2 separate regions of the Homo sapiens genome follow, and region 1 is linked to region 2. Evidence: promoter capture Hi-C in human tissues and cell types (Jung and others, 2019). All regions are on one chromosome and are shown on one strand. Each heading gives the region's core, a stretch centred on a gene start or on the middle of the fragment in contact. The rest is flanking DNA. Distances are from core to core; before and after follow the strand shown. Region 1 overlaps ZHX3 (zinc fingers and homeoboxes 3). Region 2 holds the start of EMILIN3 (elastin microfibril interfacer 3).

Region 1 (3,394 bases), core at 219-2,718, 54 kb after region 2:
TACAAGAAGTTGGTAGTGGTGGTGGTAAGGGGGGAATCCTAAATGAAAATTATTTTCTTAAAGGCCTAAAAGGAGGCTGGGCGTGGTGGCTCATGCCTGTAATCCCAGCACTTTGGGAGGCCAAGGCGGGCAGATCACGAGGTCAGGAGATCGAGACCATCCTGGCTAACACGGTGAAACCCCGTCTCTACTAAAAATACAAAAATTAGCCAGGTGTGTTGGCGGGCGCCTGTAGTTCCAGCTACTTGGGAGGCTGAGGCAGGAGAATGGCGTGAACCCAGGAGGCGGAGCCTGCAGTGAGCTGAGATCTCGCCACTGCACTCCAGCCTGGGCGACAGAGTGAGACTCCATCTCAAAAAAAAAAAAAAAAAAAAAAGGCCTAAAAGTATGTGTTAAGAATTTATTTTTACTTGTTCCACAGGTATTGATTGAGCATGTATTTGAGCCAGTTCTATGTTTGTGTGGGCTGTGTTACCATGTTCAGTTTTAAATTATCAACGTGATTTTTGATTATTTCTTTTCTTTTCTGGCTCTGCTACCTCCCTTCTCTCATCATATTCTCTCTCTAAATGATCTCATCAATTCCCAGGACCCTAGAACCCCCTGGATGCAGATGACTCTTTCTGTTACGTCTCCCCACCCTTTCTCTGGTTCCAGACTTGCAGTTTTAGCTACCACCTTCCTGTCCCAGTGATCTCAAATTTCACAGGTTCAGAACTGATCTCTCAATCTCCCTCTCAAGCTTCGAAATTTGTATTCCTCATTCCTGACCCTTCCTTACTCTCCCCTTCAGCCTTCCGTCTCACTGTTAGTTAGTACTGTCTATTCATTGTTCAGGCTGGACACCTGAAAGTTGTCTGTGATTCTTCTCATTTCCTCACTCCACATGCAACCCATCTGTATGGCTTTTTGGCCTAGCCTCTAGAATATCTCAAACCCTCCCTTTTTTCCATCTTCCTAATTCACCTACCCACCTCTCTCAGATGGATGATTCCCTGTCTCCTGGTTGGTCTCCCAGCTTCCACTGTTGCTTTCTTCTAGCACATTTTCCTCACAGCAGCCAGAGTGATCCTACTAAAGAGTAAACCCAAGCATGCCACCCCCCTGCTTGGTGGCTTCCACTGCACTTGGACTCGCATCCACACTTACTCTGACGTGCTCCCTCTCCAGGCTCCCCTCCTTGTTTGCCATGCTTGTCAGATTGAACACCTTCAGTTCCTCAAACATGCCGTATTCTCCTCTTCTGTACAGGCTCTTCAAGACCTCCACTTGTCTCATAGAAAGATCCTTAAACGTCCAGTCTCAGCTAAAACATCTCCTCCTCAGAGGGGCCTTCCCTGATCACCACTTCTATAGTAGCTTCCTCCCCATTGTCCTCTATCTCAGCACATGTGCATTTATTGCTTGCACTTCACTAAAATTCATAGTGTGTCCGGAGTTCATTCCTTCTGGTAGGTCTGTGGTCTTGCTGACTTCAAGAAAGGAGCTGCGGACCTTTGTGGTGAGTGTTACAGCTCTTAAAGATGGCATGGACCTAAAGAGTGAGTAGCAGCAAGATTTATTGTGAAGAGCGAAAAAACAAAGCTTCCACAACCTGGAAGGGAACACGAGTGGGTTGCTGCTACTGGCTGGGGTGGCTAGCTTTTATTCCCTTATTTGTCCCTGTCCATGTCCTGCTGATTGGTCCATTTTACAGGGTGCTGATTGGTCCATTTTACAAACCTCTAGCTAGCTACAGAGTGCTGATTGGTGCGTTTTACAAACCTCTAGCTAGCTACAGGGTGCCGATTGGTGCGTTTTACAATCCTGGCTACAGAGTGCTGATTGGTGCATATTACAATCCTCCTGTAAGACAAAGAAGTTCTCCAAGTCCCCACTCGACCCAGGAAGTCCAGCTGGCTTTACCCCCTCAATAGCACTTCATTTATATGTTTCCTTCTTTTGTTTTCTTCTTTATTGTCTACTCCCCCAATAGAGACTACAAGATCTAGGAGGGCAGGGACAGCCTTGTCCTGTATATGGTACAGTCCTAGCACCCAGTGCTCTGCCCAGAGTCCAGTAGGTGTAGGGCCTCAGAACATTTTGAATAGTTATTTTAATAGCTACTTTTTTCGAGAATTCGTATGTACCAGGTCCATTGCTATGTGTGTTCACACATTATCTCTAAATCTTCGGGAGAACCCAGTATGGTGATGATGGTAATTATATTACCACTTCTGTTTTTTTAGTTGAGAAAATTGAACTTAGAGAATTTAAGTAATGTTTAAAGTTACATAGCTAAGAATATGGTGGAATTAGGATTTTAATCTATGTGATGTGACTTTAGAACCTTCCCCCTTATTCATTACTGCCTTCTGATATGAATGCAGGAATGAATGAATATGAAATATGCTGCAATATTAATCCCTGATGGTTTCTCTTGTTTTTCTAAGCATGTATGAGAGCATTAAAAATAAGAACACTTGGGTTAGGATGTTATATTCTCCTGGGAAGCTTCTGTTAATAACCACTATGCCAAAGCATATAGATAGTTTGCTTTCAGGCTCTGTGTTCTAATTTTACCTTTGCCACTTTCTAGCTGTAAGCCTTGAGGAAAATTACATGTCTAAGTCTGTTTTTTCAGCTGTAAATGGAGAAAAATAATAGTTCTTATCTCATAGGATCTTTTGAGGAGCAGAATTATACACAAAAAACTATCAATGTTAGCTATTACTATTATAAGGAGAAAAAAAAATCCTCAAGAAAAGACTTGTAAACTCATCAACAATTTAGAGTTTGGATAAGAGTGAATGACAGACAATAACTAACTTAGTGTTCTTTCACTGACCGTAGTTTTGAATTTATAAAAATTATCAGAGAATTGGCCGGGCACGGTGGCTCACGCCTGTAATCCCAGCACTTTGGGAGGCCTAGGCGGGCGGATCACGAGGTTAAGAAATAAAGACCATCCTGGCCAACATGGTGAAACCCTGTCTCTACTAAAAATACAAAAAATTAGCTTGGTGTGGTGGCACGTGCCTGTAGTCCCAGCTACTCAGGAGGCTGAGGCAGGAGAATTGCTTGAACCTGGGAGGGGGAGGTTGCAGTGAGCCGAGATCACGCCACTGCACTCCAGCCTGGTGACAGAGCAAGACTCTGTCTCAAAAAAAAAAAAAAAAAAAAAAAAAATCAGAATTAACTATCTGGGTTGGGATTTATAATTATTCTATTGATGTATGACAACGTATGTTTGGATTTGTGCTTGTTAAATGCTTGTGAAGTAAGATAGCTTTCTTTAAAAAAAAAAAAACCTCTTCCCCATCTTTAGAAGTATTCTCAGGGTAGAGAGATCTTTCAAGAAGCTGGCTATACTATTTTATTTTATTTTTTTGCACTAGAAAGATATTCACCAGCA
Region 2 (3,190 bases), core at 650-3,149:
CCTGTCTCAAATTTAAAAACACAACCAGAAAGGCAGGGCGCGGTGGCTCACGCCTGTAATCCTAGCACTTTGGGAGGCCGAGGCGGACGGATCACGAGATCAGGAGATCGAGACCATCCTGGCTAACACGGTGAAACCACGTCTCTACTAAAAAAAAAAAAAAAATACAAAAAAATTAGCTGGGCATTATGGCGGGCGCCTGTAGTCCCAGCCACTCGGGAGGCTGAGGCAGGAGAATGGCGTGAACCCGGGAGGCAGAGCTTGCAGTGAGCCGAGATCGCGCCACTGCACTCCAGCCTGGGCGACAGAGCGAGACTCTGGCTCAAAAAACAAAAACAGAAAGAAGAGGAAAGGACACAGATCACAGTCACAGAGAAAAAAAGGTCACCTGAAGAGGGATATGCGGAGGGAAAGTAGAGGCTGGAGTGATGCTGCTACAAAGAATCCTTGACCAAAGAACGCCAGAGATTGCCAGGAACCACCAGTGGCTGGAAGAGGCAAGGAAGGCTTCTCCCCAGAGCCACTGGAGGGGGCATTGCCCTGCTGGCCCATGGATTTTGGAGTTAGCCTCCAGAAATGTGCAAGAATACATTTCTGTGTGTTAAGCCACTGAGTCTGTGGCTGTTACCACAGCCCTGAGAAACTCACACAACCTACACCTGGAAGCTGGATTCCTTCAGCTTCTGTGTTCTGATTCCAAAGCCTGGGGGAAAGCAGGATGGGCCTAGCTGGGGTCAGATGTCCGCCCCACAGAACCCAAAAGCCACTAAAGCTAAGGGCAGGAAATAGATGTGGGTTTCGGAGCTGCCCCTTCCAGTATCCTTGATAACCATCACCCTATCCAAAAGGCATTAATTCATATCTCAAGGTCAATTTGGAGGGAGGTCTCTCCAAGCAAGCCCCAGAGTTCTGTACACCTATCAGCTCCTGGGGCAAAGACACAGACGGCTGTAGCCACCGGTGTGGATGAGACAAGGCCAGGAAAGTACCGCTCTGATGACAGAATCAGAAGGACTCTGTGCAGGTTAGAGAGTTAGCAAGGTGATACTGAATGAGGACGACGATAAAACCCAACTCTTGGGTTCCAAGAGTCAACTTCACAAGCAAAATGTGGACGACGCCTGGCTTCACCGCGGCAGTGCCTTGTGAGAAAGACCTGAGGATTTTCTCTGACCAGCCGGCTTAGAGCTTCAGTTGCACGAAAAGCACAGCACTTTTGGCTGGGCTGGGGCGGTGATAGGCCTTTCGGGCTCGGTGCAACCCATACCTAAGACAGAGAGGCAACACAGGCGCCTCCAGAGAACCAGAGGTGCAACCGGGCCACCAGGCTACGTGGCAGAGGTTGCGGGGTAAGGGGGAGGTGGGATGCCTGGGGAGAGGTCAGCGGAGTTATCAAACTAAGGTTCCCGGGCAATGATGGGGCCAGGAGGCAGAGCGAGCAAACGGGGATGATCTGGGGTCTATTCCAAAGAGGTGGCGGGGGAGGTGGTGCTGCTGTGCCCCCAGTCACGGCCATCTCGGCTCCAGAGCCCTGGAGAGCAGTTCCCGGGTTCACACGGACTCTGAAGACAAGCGTATCCTGAGGGTGGACGACTCCTGGAAAGTCCACGCCCAGGCTGGCCTCAGGGGTCCGCTTCTCTGCGTCTCGCCCCGTGCCCGCAGGCGACAGAGTGGCTGGTGTGCTCGGGGGGCCTCCCAGGGCGCGGCGGCCTGCGCCCCTGCCACCTGGGGCTGCTCCCTTTGGAACCTCCTGTTCGCAGGCGGCTCCTCGGCCGTCCGCTCGGAGCTGGGGCGAGGGGCTGGCGGCGGCGAGCGGCGCGGCCCCAAGTTTATGCTAATCCGCAAAGAGCCCGCCTCCCGCCTCCCCTCCGCGGCCCCAGCCGCTAGCAGCGCCGGCCACTCCGCGGGACGCAGCCGCCGCGAAGCGCCAGGCGGCCGGGCCAGCGAGCTCGGGGGCCGAAGGGGACCCCGGGACCCTCGGGGCGGGACCCGGGCCGACCAGCGGCGGGGGCGGCGCGGCGCTGCAGGCGGACACCCGGCGGGGGGCACCGCGCGGGGCCGGGCAGAGGCGCGGGGGCCGCTATGGGCCGCCGCCGCCTGCTCGTCTGGCTGTGCGCCGTCGCGGCGCTGCTCTCGGGGGCGCAGGCCAGGGGCACCCCGCTCCTGGCGCGGCCTGCGCCGCCCGGTGCCTCCCGCTACAGTCTCTACACGACGGGATGGCGCCCGCGGCTGCGCCCGGGGCCGCACAAGTAAGCGCGGGCGGGCGGCGGGCGGGAAGAGGGAGGGATGGGCCCGCGCGCGTCGCCGCTCCCACCTGCCCGCACCCGCGGGGGGCGTCGAGGCCCCGGGCACCCCGAGGCCGCTGCACAGAGGGGGCGGCGCCCGGGGCCGAGCCCCTGCCCAGGCGAGCGCCCTACGCTCCGGGAGGTTGCGGGGCTGGCGAGGAAAAAGGAACCGAGGGGGCCTGGCGCGGCGGCTTGGGATCCTGGCAGTGCCAGCGGAAACCTTTCCAGCGAAGTAACATTTTCCAGCTGCGCTGTGTGCAGACTCCGGGCGAGCGGACCAGGTGGAGGGAGAGGAGGAAAGGCGGTCCGCGCGCTGAGCACGCGGGGCTCCCCCGCCCCGGGCCTCCCTTCTCTCCCCTGGCCCGGCCAGGTAGGAGATAGAGCTGCGCATCCGGGCGGCCGCTGCCCTCTCGCAGTCAGCCTGGCCCCAGCAACCCCATGGGAGCCCCAGCGTGGCCGGGCTGCAGAGCCAGAGCGGGCTCCTGGCTCCGGGCCTGTGCTGTGGCACAGCCGTCCACAGCGGTCGGCTTATGCCAGGCAGCCACCTCCTCAGCCCTTGTGGCTCATCAAGGAGCCTGCTTTCCCCGCCTCAGCTTCTGGTGTTTCGTGGGCAGTGGCTTGCGAACTGGCCTCAGTTAAGTGGGCTGGAGGCTCTGCCTGGGGTGCTGGCTGAACTTGAATTCTAGCTGAATTTGAGAGCTGTTGTAGGAGGAAGAGTACCGACACTCAGTGGGCCTGGGTACATCACAGCGAGCCTCCTGGAGGAGGTGGTACAAGAACTGCTCTGAGAGTAAGGGAACAGGACCAAAGGCAGGGGCTGCAAAACTACGAGGAGAGGTGGATTTCCCCGGGAGCCAGGCAGGGAGGAAGGACAAGACATGGTGCTCTCAAAGGAGTCACTGAGT

What was found. The method cuts DNA at HindIII sites, captures the fragments that hold promoters and counts their contacts. A contact is called where the count stands out against the background at its distance.
Region 1: a contact is called between a fragment that was not itself captured here and the fragment with the promoter of EMILIN3 in region 2, in 1 of the 25 tissues and cell types used here (hippocampus).

What each region holds. Positions count from the first base shown.
Region 1 is chr20:41,310,576-41,313,969 of GRCh38, reverse strand. All of the region lies in intron 1 of ZHX3 (zinc fingers and homeoboxes 3), which reads left to right. Among named protein-coding and RNA genes, the nearest start is that of ZHX3, 5.5 kb to the left of the region's middle. The HindIII fragment of the contact is 4,595 bases long and covers 1-3,394 here.
Region 2 is chr20:41,365,527-41,368,716 of GRCh38, reverse strand. It overlaps EMILIN3 (elastin microfibril interfacer 3), which reads left to right and starts at 1,899. Exons shown (of 4, transcript NM_052846.2): 1 at 1,899-2,249. The coding sequence starts at 2,083. RefSeq lists an enhancer at 2,661-3,162. The HindIII fragment of the contact is 32,668 bases long and covers 1-3,190 here.